3 separate regions of the Homo sapiens genome follow, and regions 1 and 3 are each linked to region 2. The links are contacts of gene promoters, found by promoter capture Hi-C in human tissues and cell types (Jung and others, 2019). All regions are on one chromosome and are shown on one strand. The core of a region is centred on a gene start or on the middle of the fragment in contact, and the rest is flanking DNA. Distances in the headings are between cores, read along the strand shown.

What was found. The method cuts DNA at HindIII sites, captures the fragments that hold promoters and counts their contacts. A contact is called where the count stands out against the background at its distance.
Region 1: the fragment with the promoter of FKBP1A here is called in contact with the fragment with the promoter of SIRPA in region 2 in 1 of the 25 tissues and cell types used here (hippocampus).
Region 3: a fragment that was not itself captured here is called in contact with the fragment with the promoter of SIRPA in region 2 in 2 of the 25 tissues and cell types used here (mesendoderm cells and spleen).

What each region holds. Positions count from the first base shown.
Region 1 is chr20:1,391,519-1,395,692 of GRCh38, forward strand. FKBP1A (FKBP prolyl isomerase 1A) reads right to left here and starts at 1,536. Exons shown (of 5, transcript NM_000801.5): 1 at 1,444-1,536; 2 at 1,316-1,363. The coding sequence starts at 1,480. It overlaps FKBP1A-SDCBP2 (FKBP1A-SDCBP2 readthrough (NMD candidate)), which reads right to left and starts at 1,654. Exons shown (of 10, transcript NR_037661.1): 1 at 1,444-1,654; 2 at 1,316-1,363. MIR6869 (microRNA 6869) reads right to left here and starts at 1,443; the gene lies at 1,382-1,443. RefSeq lists enhancers at 1-136, 928-1,428 and silencers at 1,163-1,232, 1,243-1,342, 1,543-1,592. The HindIII fragment of the contact is 6,579 bases long and covers 1-4,174 here.
Region 2 is chr20:1,893,468-1,897,604 of GRCh38, forward strand. SIRPA (signal regulatory protein alpha) reads left to right here and starts at 1,940. Exons shown (of 8, transcript NM_001040023.2): 1 at 1,940-2,059. The coding sequence starts at 1,981. LOC102724545 (a long non-coding RNA gene) reads right to left here and starts at 783. Exons shown (of 4, transcript NR_186374.1): 1 at 652-783. RefSeq lists silencers at 904-1,163, 1,174-1,293 and an enhancer at 2,585-3,100. The HindIII fragment of the contact is 18,060 bases long and covers 1-4,137 here.
Region 3 is chr20:2,317,580-2,321,419 of GRCh38, forward strand. The region is part of intron 7 of TGM3 (transglutaminase 3); the gene reads left to right. Among named protein-coding and RNA genes, the nearest start is that of TGM3, 23 kb to the left of the region's middle. The HindIII fragment of the contact is 3,003 bases long and covers 172-3,174 here.

The DNA of each region.
Region 1 (4,174 bases), core at 286-2,785, 500 kb before region 2:
TTAACTTCTACCTCCTGCCCCCATTTCTACCCACGGGGAAGGGCCACAGAAATAAAAGGGCATGGGAGGGGGGATGTTAGTTGCCTTTTCCTCTTTCCAGTGAAAGTCATTTCCCTCAATAGAGGGATCCCTCCATGTTTCCATGATTTGGAAGAGAAAGGTGGAGCTTATTCGTGAGCAACTTGGCCAGAACTGCCCACAGCCTACTACCCAGGAGGAGGAAGAGGAGGAGAGGGAGTGGGAAAAAAAGAGGGAGGAGGAGGGGGAACAGAGGAAAGGGTGGGAAGGTTGAGAAAGGGGAAGGAGGAGGGGGAGGGAAGGTTATTCGTATCAACAACTGTGGCTACACCAATCACTGCCACCCTTGTGGGACCCACAGCCACTGAGTCTCCGCCAACTCAGCTCTCCCCCTCCCCCGCCCCCATACAAACCAGGACAAGCTTGTAAGGAGAAGGAGTAAGACAGCCCCAAGGCACACGACTCTGATGTCTGAATTCTGGCTGGGGAGGGGGAGGTGTCTAAAATTTCCTTTGGCTTGTATTATCACTATGTATTAGCCTCCAGATGCTTATCTTTAAAATGAGGACGAGAAAAGTCTCTACTTCTAGAAGAGCTGGGGGACTAAATTACACGTGCAGCTTTCGGTCAGCCTGAGCCAGCGCTGTCACTGAGCCTTGGATTTGTAAGTGGCTCAAAAGTAAAAAGACGGAAGAAGGCCGTGCAGCTCTACTTCCCCCAAGGCCAGGAAGGGCCAAAGCAATGACTTAGGAAGTGGGATGTTTCCCCACCCTAGGCAAAGGGGCGAATTCCGAGTTCCCCGGAGGAAGCAGCAGCTCTGCAGACTCGGAATTACCTCGTCCTCATCTCCAGTGAAGGGAGGGATGGAAGTGGGGGCAGGGGCACAGAAATGGTACAAATCCTTCCTAATGGTCCCTGGCCAGAGCTCTGCCCATTCCTGAAAGTGTGACCTTGGGAAAGTGAGACCTTGGGAAAGTGACTTCGCCTCGCCAAGCCTCAGTTTCCTCATCTGTGCAGCGGGCATAAGGGCAGCATCTAAGGTGCAGAAATGCTTCTGACGGGTCAGATAACACCTAGCCCGCAGCCGACGCTCACAGCCGCCGATTCAGACCCGCCCGGGTTCCGCAAGCCCCAGGCTGCCCCTGAGCCACCGCCCAGGCCTCAGCCTCGGGCCATGCGGACCTCGCCGCCGCCACGCCCCGGACCCCAGGCCCCGGGCCCCCAGGCCTCGACGGCCAGCCGCACCCGGGCTGCGGACTGCGGCCCGGGCCCCCTCCCCGCTGGGCCCCCGACTCACCGGTGTAGTGCACCACGCAGGTCTGGCCGCGCTTGGGGAAGGTGCGCCCTGAGGAGACAGAGACGGGCATGCTGAGCCGATGCGCGCGGCGGCAGAGGTACTCCGAGCCGCCGCGCGCCACTACTCACCGTCTCCTGGGGAGATGGTTTCCACCTGCACTCCCATGGCGGCGGCGGACGCTGAGCGGGCGGGCGGCGCGACGGGCGGCGTGGACCAACAGCGACCTGGCGGCGGTTCCACGGCTCTGCCTAGTACCTCGGCGCGTCGCCTGCGCACGCGCACGCCCCCTCACGCCCAGCCCTGCGTGCGCGCCCCACACGGCGCGCGACGTCCCGGAAACCCAGGCCTCCGGAAGAGGGACCGGAAGCCCAGAAGCCCCGAGACCTCCGGAAGCCCGGAGGCCTCCGGATACAGCTGTGTTTGCCGGGTGACTTGCTTCGTTCTCCTGCCCTTCCTCTGTGCTTCCAGCCGGTTAAGCATCTCCCTGCCCAAAGAATGGGAGTAATAATAGGGGGTCCGCCAGTCACTGACTGGGTGACTGTCATCAGGTTTCCACTTAGAAGCACACAGTTACTCATCCTGGGAAGAGCATGGTTCTGAGAAGACAGCGCACAGGTGGTGGTAGTATGTTAGTATTTTATAAGTGGCTCAAGGTTGTAAGTTCTGCTTTTCTTCACTGGAGGAGGAGTTGTCCAAATTCATTCACTCACCCATAGCTTACATGCATACATTCTTATTGAGCATGTGAAAGTTGATAATACGAATTGGGTCACTCTTCTTATGCCCAACGGAATCAGAATCCAGGGGCCAGGGGAAAAGCACTGGAGGCACGCAGCGCCTGCTCCAAGAACCAATATTTCCACTAACTGCTGCGGAAATGGCCTGCTGTCCCCCTGAGACCAGATTCAGCTAGTAACTGCTGAAACAACCCGCCATAACCTAATACTAGTTTTACTTACCACTGTCAGTCACCAATCAGAGCTTGCCAGCTCCCTGAAACTTTACTAGTGCCAATGCATTTCCCTTTCTAATAAAACGCCCAGCCTTCTCTTTGTTTTTCGGACATACCAAAGACCACCAGATCTGTGTGTATGCTCCGAGTTGCGATTCTCGCTTCCCCAAATAAAACATTACATTTAGAGATTCATCTCCATATTTTATTTTGACTTTGACAAGCACCTTCTGTATGTCATGTACTGTGCTAGGTGCTGAGGATACAGCGGTGAAGGAGTCAGACTTAGTCCCTGACCTCACAGAATCTACGTATGATGTGGGAGAGATAATCAAATAACCTGTTTAAGTAAAAAAAGATACGGAATAAATGTAAAGTTTCAAATCTGTAATATTATGAGACAGTAATACATGCTGTGAGGGGCGTGTTAATATAACAGAGATGCCTCACTTAGTCTGGAATGTGGTCAGATATTTCCCTGAGTTAGCCAGGTTTAGCCAGGTTTAGCCAAGGTTAGAAGGCCAATTGTGTGTATGTGTTGGGGTAAGGGGAGGCAGAAGGAGCAGTACCTGCAGAGGCACTGTAACGCAAGAGAACACTGTGACATGGTCTAGGACATAAGGAGGCACATGTGACTAATCTTTCTCTGATCTGTGTGTGTGTGTGCTTCTGCATTAGTCGATTCTCACACTGCTATAAAGAATACCTGAGGCTGGGCACGGTGGCTCATGCCTGTAATCCCAGCACTTTGGGAAGCTGAGGCGGGCAGATCACTTGAGGCCAGGCGTTCAAGACCAGCCTGGCCAACATGGTGAAACCCAGTTTCTACTAAAAATACAAAAAAATTAGCCAGGCATGGTGGCACAGGCTTGTAATCCCAGCCACTTGAGAGGCTGAGGCATAAGAATTGCTTAAACCAGGAGGCGGAGGTTGTAGTGAGCCAAGATTGCACCTCTGCATTCCAGCCTGGGTGACAGAGTGAGAACCAGTCTCAAAAAAAAAAAAAAAAAAAAAAAATTCCTGAGACTGGGTAATTTATGGAGGAAAGAGGTTTAATTGACTCACAGTTCTGCATGGCTGGGAATCCTCAGGAAACTTACAATCATGGCAGAAGGGGAAGCAGGCATATCTTACACAGCAGCAGGCATGAGAGAGAGTATGTGAAGAGGAACTGTCAAACACCTATAAAACCATCATTTCTCATGAGAATGCACTCACTACCATGAGAACAGCATGGGGGAAACCACCCCCACCATCCAATCACCTCCCACCGGGTCCCTCCCTTGACCTCAGGATTATAGGGATTACAATTCAAGATAAGATTTGGGTGGGGACACAGAACTAAACCATACCAGCTCCTGTAGTGTTTTAAACATGACCTCACAGTTTTTTGACACCCCAACCCTCATCTATGTCCCCTTTCCTAAAATCTCAGTGAGCTCGTGACTGCTTTGGAAATTTTAATGTAGTAAGAATACAGGCTGTAACAGAACCAAATTAACTGTGGCTGAAAAGAGGCTGAAGTTGCTGTCTCTCTCATGTAACAGTTCAGAGGCAGGTGGTTCAGTGCAGGTAGGACTTCACAGGCTGCCCAGGGACTCATCCTTCTTCTACTTGTGGCTCCCCATCCTTAGAATCCTACCCTCATATGCATGGTCCAAGTTGGCTCTCCAACATATTTTCATCTCAGCTAGTGGGAAGGGGGAAAGGAGGAATGGGGGGTACATTCCCTTTTCCTTTAAGGGTACGACTTAGAATTGCACACATCTCTTCCCGTTATACTTCACATTGACTATAACTTAGTTATATGGTCAAATTTAGCTGCATGGGAGGCTAGGGAATAAAGTCTTCATTCTGGGTGTACACACACCCAACTAAAATCAGAGGTTCTGTGCTCATAGAATGGA
Region 2 (4,137 bases), core at 690-3,189:
GGAATTCAAATCTTGTTTCTACCCCAAGCTTTGCTGTGTGGCCTTAAGCAAACCTATTCCCTCTCCGGGCCTCAACTTTCTGTCCATTTACAGGGTTGGGCCTTCTCTCACCTTGTGTCATTCCTGTCCTCTTAACCGCCACTGTGTGAACCAAAATTCTCTCCCATTAGCAGCGGGGTCTTGAACTTGTGTTCCTCCCACAGTGCGGAGCCTTCTGCCAGGTGACCACGACACTGGCACTCCCCATCACTGACCTGGCTACTACAGGAACGGCGTTCCCTCCGGGAAAACCGGGGTTCTGTCCTCTCCAACTCCAGGCCTCTGGCCCCGGCTCCCCTTCCCCTCATCTTCCTCAGGGCTTGTCCTTCTCCCGGAACCCAGGCCTTCAGGGCCCCGCTCTCCCACACACGCCCCGGCCTGGGCCTCCCACCCGCCCAGTCCGCCCTCCACCACCGAGACACCTGGCCAGGGGGCCTCCACCTCCCTGGGAAGGCCCCGACCCTTCCCCTCTGGTTGCGCGCCACAGCCCCCTTCTCGCTCCCTCTCCTCCCCGCGCCTCTTTTCCAGGCGGCACCGAAGTCCTTCCTACACACACGCTATTTTTGTACCATCATCTCTTCTTCCTCTCCCCTTCCCCCTGCGTTCACTTACTTCCTTCTTTTCCTTCACCTCGGCCCGGCTCTGAAAGGATCGGGCCCCTCCGGCCCGCACCCACCCCCAAGAGGGGCCTTCAGCTTTGGGGCTCAGAGGCACGACCTCCTGGGGAGGGTTAAAAGGCAGACGCCCCCCCGCCCCCCGCGCCCCCGCGCCCCGACTCCTTCGCCGCCTCCAGCCTCTCGCCAGTGGGAAGCGGGGAGCAGCCGCGCGGCCGGAGTCCGGAGGCGAGGGGAGGTCGGCCGCAACTTCCCCGGTCCACCTTAAGAGGACGATGTAGCCAGCTCGCAGCGCTGACCTTAGAAAAACAAGTTTGCGCAAAGTGGAGCGGGGACCCGGCCTCTGGGCAGCCCCGGCGGCGCTTCCAGTGCCTTCCAGCCCTCGCGGGCGGCGCAGGTCCGGGCCCGGCAGGGACGGGGAGGGGCAGAGCGGGACCGGTCGGGGCTGGGGACCAGCCGCGCGGGCTTCTGAACGGGCACGCTGTCGGAGCCGGAGGCTCGTCTAGTCCCGAGCCCCAGCGGGCCGCGGCGGCTCGCGGGGCCGCCTTCCCGGGACAGCAGCCGGGGCCCGGGCGCCGGCGCGGGGGAGGACGCTGCCCTCCCCGGCCGGGCGCGCAGCTCGCAGCCCTCGCTCCCTCCCCCGGGGCGCGCAGGCGGGCGCTCGCTCGCAGAGAAGGTGCCGGCGGGGCCGGAGCCCCGAAGCCTCCCCGGGCGGCGGGAAGACGGGAGGAGGGGAAAGGGAAGGAGGGAGGGGGTCGGGCTGCCGGGAGGGCGGGGGCAGCGGCCGGGACTGCGGGCCGGGAGCGAGCCCAGCCGCCCGCGCCGTGTGGAGCCCGGGCGGGGCAGGTGGGCAGCGGCGGGGGCGGCTCCGCGCGGCCGGGCTCGGCCGTGCTGCCCCTCGCCCCTGCTCGCGCGGTCCTCTCTCCCGCGCGGTCTGTCGGTCTGCGCGCCGCCTCGCTCCTCGCTCCTCGCTCTCCCCCTCTTTCTCCCCCTCTCGCCTCTCCGTGTCTCTGGCTCTCTGCCTGGCTCCCTTGGGTCTGTTTCTCTCTCCTGCCGCCTCTCTCTGGCCGCCCCTGGCTTTATTTCTCGCGCGCTTGGGGTCTCTCCCAGTCTCCGTCTCTCCATTTCTCCTGGGGGGCGGGGAGGGGGGGTCTCCAAAAACCGCGGCGGCGGCGGCGGCCGCTCCAGGCGCCCGTTCCGGAGTCGGGGGGAGGCCCAGCCGGGAGGGGGGAAGGGGGGGAGCCTTAGTCATTTCCCCGCTCCAGCCTGCTCCCGCCCGAGCGCGCACTCACGGCCGCTCTCCCTCCTCGCTCCGCAGCCGCGGCCCATGGAGCCCGCCGGCCCGGCCCCCGGCCGCCTCGGGCCGCTGCTCTGCCTGCTGCTCGCCGCGTCCTGCGCCTGGTCAGGTAAGCACCCCCCCGCTCCCCACCGCTGCACTCCCCAAACTGCGGGCTCAGGCCTCTCAGACTGGCACTGGGACCCCTTCGGCTAATGCCGAGCAGTAATAGGGGGAGAGACGCCTGTAACCAGGGTTATAGATGCAGAAACTGAGGCCCAGAGAGGGCCAGCGACATGCCCAAGGTCACACAGCCAAGGGTAGAACCCAAGTCTCTTCTATGAGAGTTTGTCTCTGTGGACTCTGACTCTGTGCACTGTGCTGGGCACTGAGACAAAAGAGCCGAGTTGCTTCACTCAGCCCCTGCCCGGTCCAATGGGGAAGGCTGACTGACAGTGGCTTTCAGAGCAGGGCCGTCCGGCTTCCCCAGAATCTGTCCCCATGGACATACGACTTTCCACATGTTTGACTTCAGGGTGTGAGGGGAGGAGGTGAGGGCAGAGGTCCTCCCGATGCTGCCTGGAATGGAACAGAGACAAGCTGTTGCAATTAGGGAAGAGTGAGCCCTCCCTCTGGTGCGCAGAGTAAACCGGTGTTAGTGTGTGCCTGGGAGAGAGGGAGCCGGGAGGCCGCGGTAACCCCAGAGCGAGCTGCTGCGAGCAACAGATCCTTATGTAAAAACACGGTGGATTGTCCCTGTGGTTGCCAAAGCCTCTCCCTGGTGGTCTTGCTCCTTGAGGCGCTCCCAGCTCCCCCTTCCTCCTGCCTTCCCCGAGCTTCCAGGCAGCTCCCTGCAGTTCAGGTGCTCCGCGGGGATGTTACCTGTGGCTCTGACCATGTCTTTCTGTTGGCCTACATCAAACACCTGGCTGTCGCCGGCAGGCGGGCTCTGAAGGCTACTGTGCATGTTCACCAAAGGGTGAGGTCACCATTCAGGAGTCTTGCTTCTTAAATGGGTTTTGCAAAACCATGGGTCTCCTGGGAGGGCACCGGGTGGGGGGCGGGGGGAGCAGAGAAATGGCATTAAGGGAGTTGGGAGGGAGAGAAAAATGGGGATCTTGTTTTTTGTCGTCTTGAAACTGTGTTGTAGGCAGTGGGGTCTCTCTGTACCTCCCACCCTTGAGGAGGGAGGTAAAGATGAGCTCAGTGTCCAACACCCCCTTTTGCGTTTGACTAGAGATGGTAACCATCTGATAGCAGGGAGAAAGGGAGAACTAGCAAAGAGTGGGTGGAAGGAGAAGTATGGGGGGTAGACAGCTGCTTCTCTCTGCCCTGCAGTTTCCCCTGAAACCCAGGAATTCACATAGGCATCCCCCCACCCCACCCCACCCTCCACCCCCAGTTCTTTTCAGTTATAGTTGCGTCCTTGCTGGGCTGAAGGGAGCACTGATACAGTTCACGTCTCTCCAGTGAGTGGCATCTCCTATCTGCTCCTTCCTGCCTGAGCTGGCCATTTGTACCCTGCAAAAGTCCGAGTTCCTGCCCTGCCATCCTTCCTGGCCTGGAAATGCACAAGTGTCACTCACAAGTGCTTAATTTTCCTGAAGCAGGGAATTGGGCCCGAGTTAATTTCTAAATGTCTATTCCAGACCCTTCTCCGACCAGGAGGCTGTGGTTCAGTCCCTGGCAAACGAGCAGTGACGCTGATTAGCAAGTGCTCCGATGGGCAGCCTGCCTTTCCTGGGGCACCGGCTGGGAACACCAACACCTTTCTTGTGAGCACATCTCCCCCTTTTGCCTATAAAAACAGTCTATAAGATGGTAAAGATTGGGCCATAAAACTTCCGTTCCAATCCATTCAGCATCAATAGCCTGAAAAAGTGGGAGCAGCAGAGGGGCCAAGATTAGCTTTGAAATAAATAAATCTTAGGAGGTAAGAATGAATTTCTTGGTCGAGGGTGGTGGGGAAGGGATGAGGTGCGACCATCATAGCTCAAGTCTCCCATTATCCTTCAGTATCTGTTCTTCGGGGTCCTGGTCACACCATGGGCCTGGGCAGGGAAGTCACCTGGTTTGGCTGAAGGATGGGGCCTCAGGCCCCTCCCCCTATTGCTCCAGACATGGAATTTACAACAAAGAAGTAGAGAGACAGGATATGAGGGTAGGAAGGTACAAGGAGGCAGTTGTCCAATTTTCTAAGAAAATGGA
Region 3 (3,840 bases), core at 423-2,922, 420 kb after region 2:
TGCAAGGCAAGTAACATGTCATCACAGGGTGTAGAATGGAACTGCTGGCAATGCTGATTACACACTTAGCAGCACCCAAGACACCTCTTCTCGGTGCTCTGCGGTCTGCTAGTCTGGTCTATCTTGCTGCCGTCAGACAAAGGATCTGATCCCAGTGAAAGACAGGGCTCCTAAATTCACTCTGAATTTATGGGATCCATTGGACCTTATACTACTATAGAATATACAAGTTGAAACTATTGCTTTTCCAGCAAGAAATATACATTTGTTTCATTTCAAGTAATCCATATGACTTACAAACTTTCTTAAAGAGAATAAGAAAAGCAACACATCTTCTCTTAGCATATATATATATATATATATCATATATATATATATATACACCTATTGTATACCTTGGTTGACATCAAAAGTTCAGAGTTTATTCTGGATTCCGGATGAAAACAATTATTTTTTTGAGATGGAGTTTCATTCTTGTTGCCCAGGCTGGAGTGCAATGGTACAATCTTGGCTCACTGCAACCTCAGGCTCCCAGGTTCAAGTGATTCTCCTGCCTCAGCCTCCCAAGTAGCTGAGATTACAGGCATGCACCACCATGCCCGGCTAATTTTTGTATTTTAGTAGAGACAGGCTTTCACCATGTTGGTCAGGCTGGTCTTGAACTCCTGACCTCAGGCCATCCACCTGCCTCAGCTTCCCAAAGTGCTGGGATTACAGGCGTAAGCCACTGCACCCGGCCAAAATGTTTTATATATATTTGGGCATTTATATTCCTAACCATAAGTATGCCATGTGCACACTATCAATACACACACACACGTAATTTAATGATAGATGCCACTGGAAGTAGGAAATGTGTAGACATATATCTGTAACTGCATAGAGCACTAGATAGATAGATATTATATAGATAAAAATAGACATTGTTACAACTGTTTAAGGTTATATCATATACCAAGTTATTACCGGATGGCAATTGGCAATGATGTCTATATCTGTAGATACACAGAGATATCTATGTATCTATATAAAGTACCCATCTATCTATTGTTTTAATCCATTTCAAAGGCTACACACACACATAATTGCTCACATGCATGTATGTGGCTAGATAATCGTATGACAGATGTAATCTTATTTTCAGATGTTCAATTTTGAGATAGTCTACATAAAATGTTTGTATTACTTATCATTCCCAGAATAAGTATATCTAACTTATCTGAAATGTGCTTAATGTAACTAAGGGTATAAAATGAAACGAAAATAGATAATAATGGAAAACACTGTTAAAACAAATAAATAACAACTCCATGCCAGCAACCGAGTTGAGTAATAAAAGCATCCCTTCCCTTCTGAAGGAGAGTGAGGTTTATGTAACTCACCCCAGAGTCAATGGATTCTGGGGTTTTACTAGGGGAGAGAAAGCTTATTTAAGGAGTTTCTTTCTTGATCTGCACATACACAACTTTCTCTCTAATGATATTGCTTACTTGTGGCCAGACTTTGTTTTCCAACTTCTCATGAATGAGTGTCTTCTTTTCCCTGGGCTTTTCTTTGTTCTTGTGTCCAAAATCCCATCGCAACCAGCTCTGATCACTGGGGCTATGCCATTCCTAACTTTAGTTTCTTCTACAAAAGGAGATGGTTGGTGAGACAAGTTGGGGGTCCCCTCGGCATACCCTTTCTGTGATTATCCTGTACATTAGGAACTGCAGGGACGTGGAAAGCTTAAGTCTCAGTTCCTCCACTGAAAGCATTTTTATGGTGCTGTTAGGAGGCACGGGGTGGGGAGGCCACTAGTAGAGGCTAATTAGCAACACAGCATGGTGTGTGATGCCCAGGCAAGTGACTGAGACAGGGATACCAGGAACTCGGAGGAAATCCTCAAGGAAGGCGTCCTGGAAACAGGAAAGTGAGGCTTTTAAGCTAAATTTAGAATTAGAACCCAGGTCTCCTGGTTAGTGATTCACACTGCCCCCCACATCAGCTTAACATCACCTTTGGGACAAGTAGGAGCTGATGGAGACATTCCAGGGTGGCTCTGTGGTCATTTCTGTGGCCTCATGGGAGGGGGCCAGGCGCAGAAGCTCTGACTGTTCCTGAGGATCTTGTCACCCCTCCCTTCCTCTCCCCTTTTCTGAACCTTCTCAGAAAGCCAAGGGAGCTGATAGTTACTCCCTACACCATTCCCTACAGCTGATGGTTGGGGGAGCCAGCCCTGGAGGGCATGAGGACAGGGAGTCCCAAGCACTAGCTCCAGCCCTACCACCCAATTGCTGTGAGGCTTGCGCAAGGCAATTTATCCTCCTGGTCCCAAGTTTCTTCATATGTGAAATATAAGGGTTGGCCTAGGACTAGATGATTTCTTAAGTCCTTTGCCAGCTTAAATGTTTAAATTCTCGGGAGCTTCAGCCCACTCCACTTTCTATAAGGGAGCTAGCCCTCCCAAGGGAGCCCTGCTGTTCCTTCCTCCTTGAATCCCATGCAGGGGAGAGCTAAACCAAGAGCCAGTTTCTGCCTGGCGTGAAATTACTAAGCTATTCTTATAAGGGCAACCGGAGTTTGGACAGAAAACCTCTGACATGAATCTTTGTATGTTACCAAAAAGTGTTGAAAGCTTTAGAACCGTGCCCAGATTTGCCTAAAGTAATAGAATGTGAGAATCAAGGGAGATTAAGCATTAGAAGTGCTTAGTAATAGTAACAGCAGCAACTAATAATTTGTTGAGCAGTTGTTGTGTGCCAGGTACTGTTATAAGTGCTTAGATTTCATCTTCACAAATGACGTAGGCATTGTTATTTTCATCCCCAATTTATTTTTCATGGATGAGAAAACAAAGGCCCCGAGAGAAGTAACTTGTCTAAGGGTAAACACCGGGAGACATGTAGACATTCTAAGCGCATAACATTATGTAAGTTCCTTGCCTTTGCTACACCTCAATTTCCCACTTGTAAAACAAAGGGCCAGATCAGGGGACCTCAGTGACATTTTCTAGGCCTTTCTTTTAATCAGATTCACAGCAGCCAGTGGGGTAAATTTTTTTCTAAGCCACTCTGCTCGTGCCAATGGTTTGGCTTAAGAGTCACGCAGTTCCGGAGTATTCACTCTCTTCAGAGTGAGGACACTTTTCGGGGGAGCTTAGTTTGGGATGCTTCTTTGAGATGTCCTCCTTCGGGTCCACTGCAAAGGAAGTCTCTGGAGCCTATTCAGCCACCGAGCAGCAGCCGAATGATTTGGAACAGTTTAGCCAAAGTTATCTTGACTTTTCTGGCTTGTTTTCTTCATTCATTTGGCTTGATCCCCCAATTTCTAGAGTCATAGATCTGACTCTACCTGTAGACTTTGCAGAACTCTGAGGTAGAAGGTGCCTAGAGACTGCCCAGCCCTGCCAGGGAGGTGAAGTCAGGCAGTGCCTCCAGCTGTCAGCACCCACACCTCAGCCAAGCCCCTGGCTCCTCATGCAATCTCTCCACGGCCTCTGCCTCTGAATACCTGCTTCCACTAATCCTGAACTGGCTCCTAGGCCCTTAGTGAGGAAGTGACAGAGAGTGGTTTCAGCCCAGAAACAACTCAATTCAGCAAACATGATTCCATGCACATCTGCACTGGACTCCGGGCACCAAGAGGAACAAGATGCAGGAACTGTGCTGGAGGAGGGTTTTTGTTTGTTTGTTTTGTTTTATAACTAGGCCTTAGAGACTGAATAGACGAGTTTACAGCTGCATTAAAAGCTTGGCAATTATGGAGTAGCAATGAAATCAATGAATTATTTGCAAGAGTCAGAGACAGCACAGAGGTATTATTGGCACTCTCTTGGCGTGTCAGGAAAGGCTTTTTTGG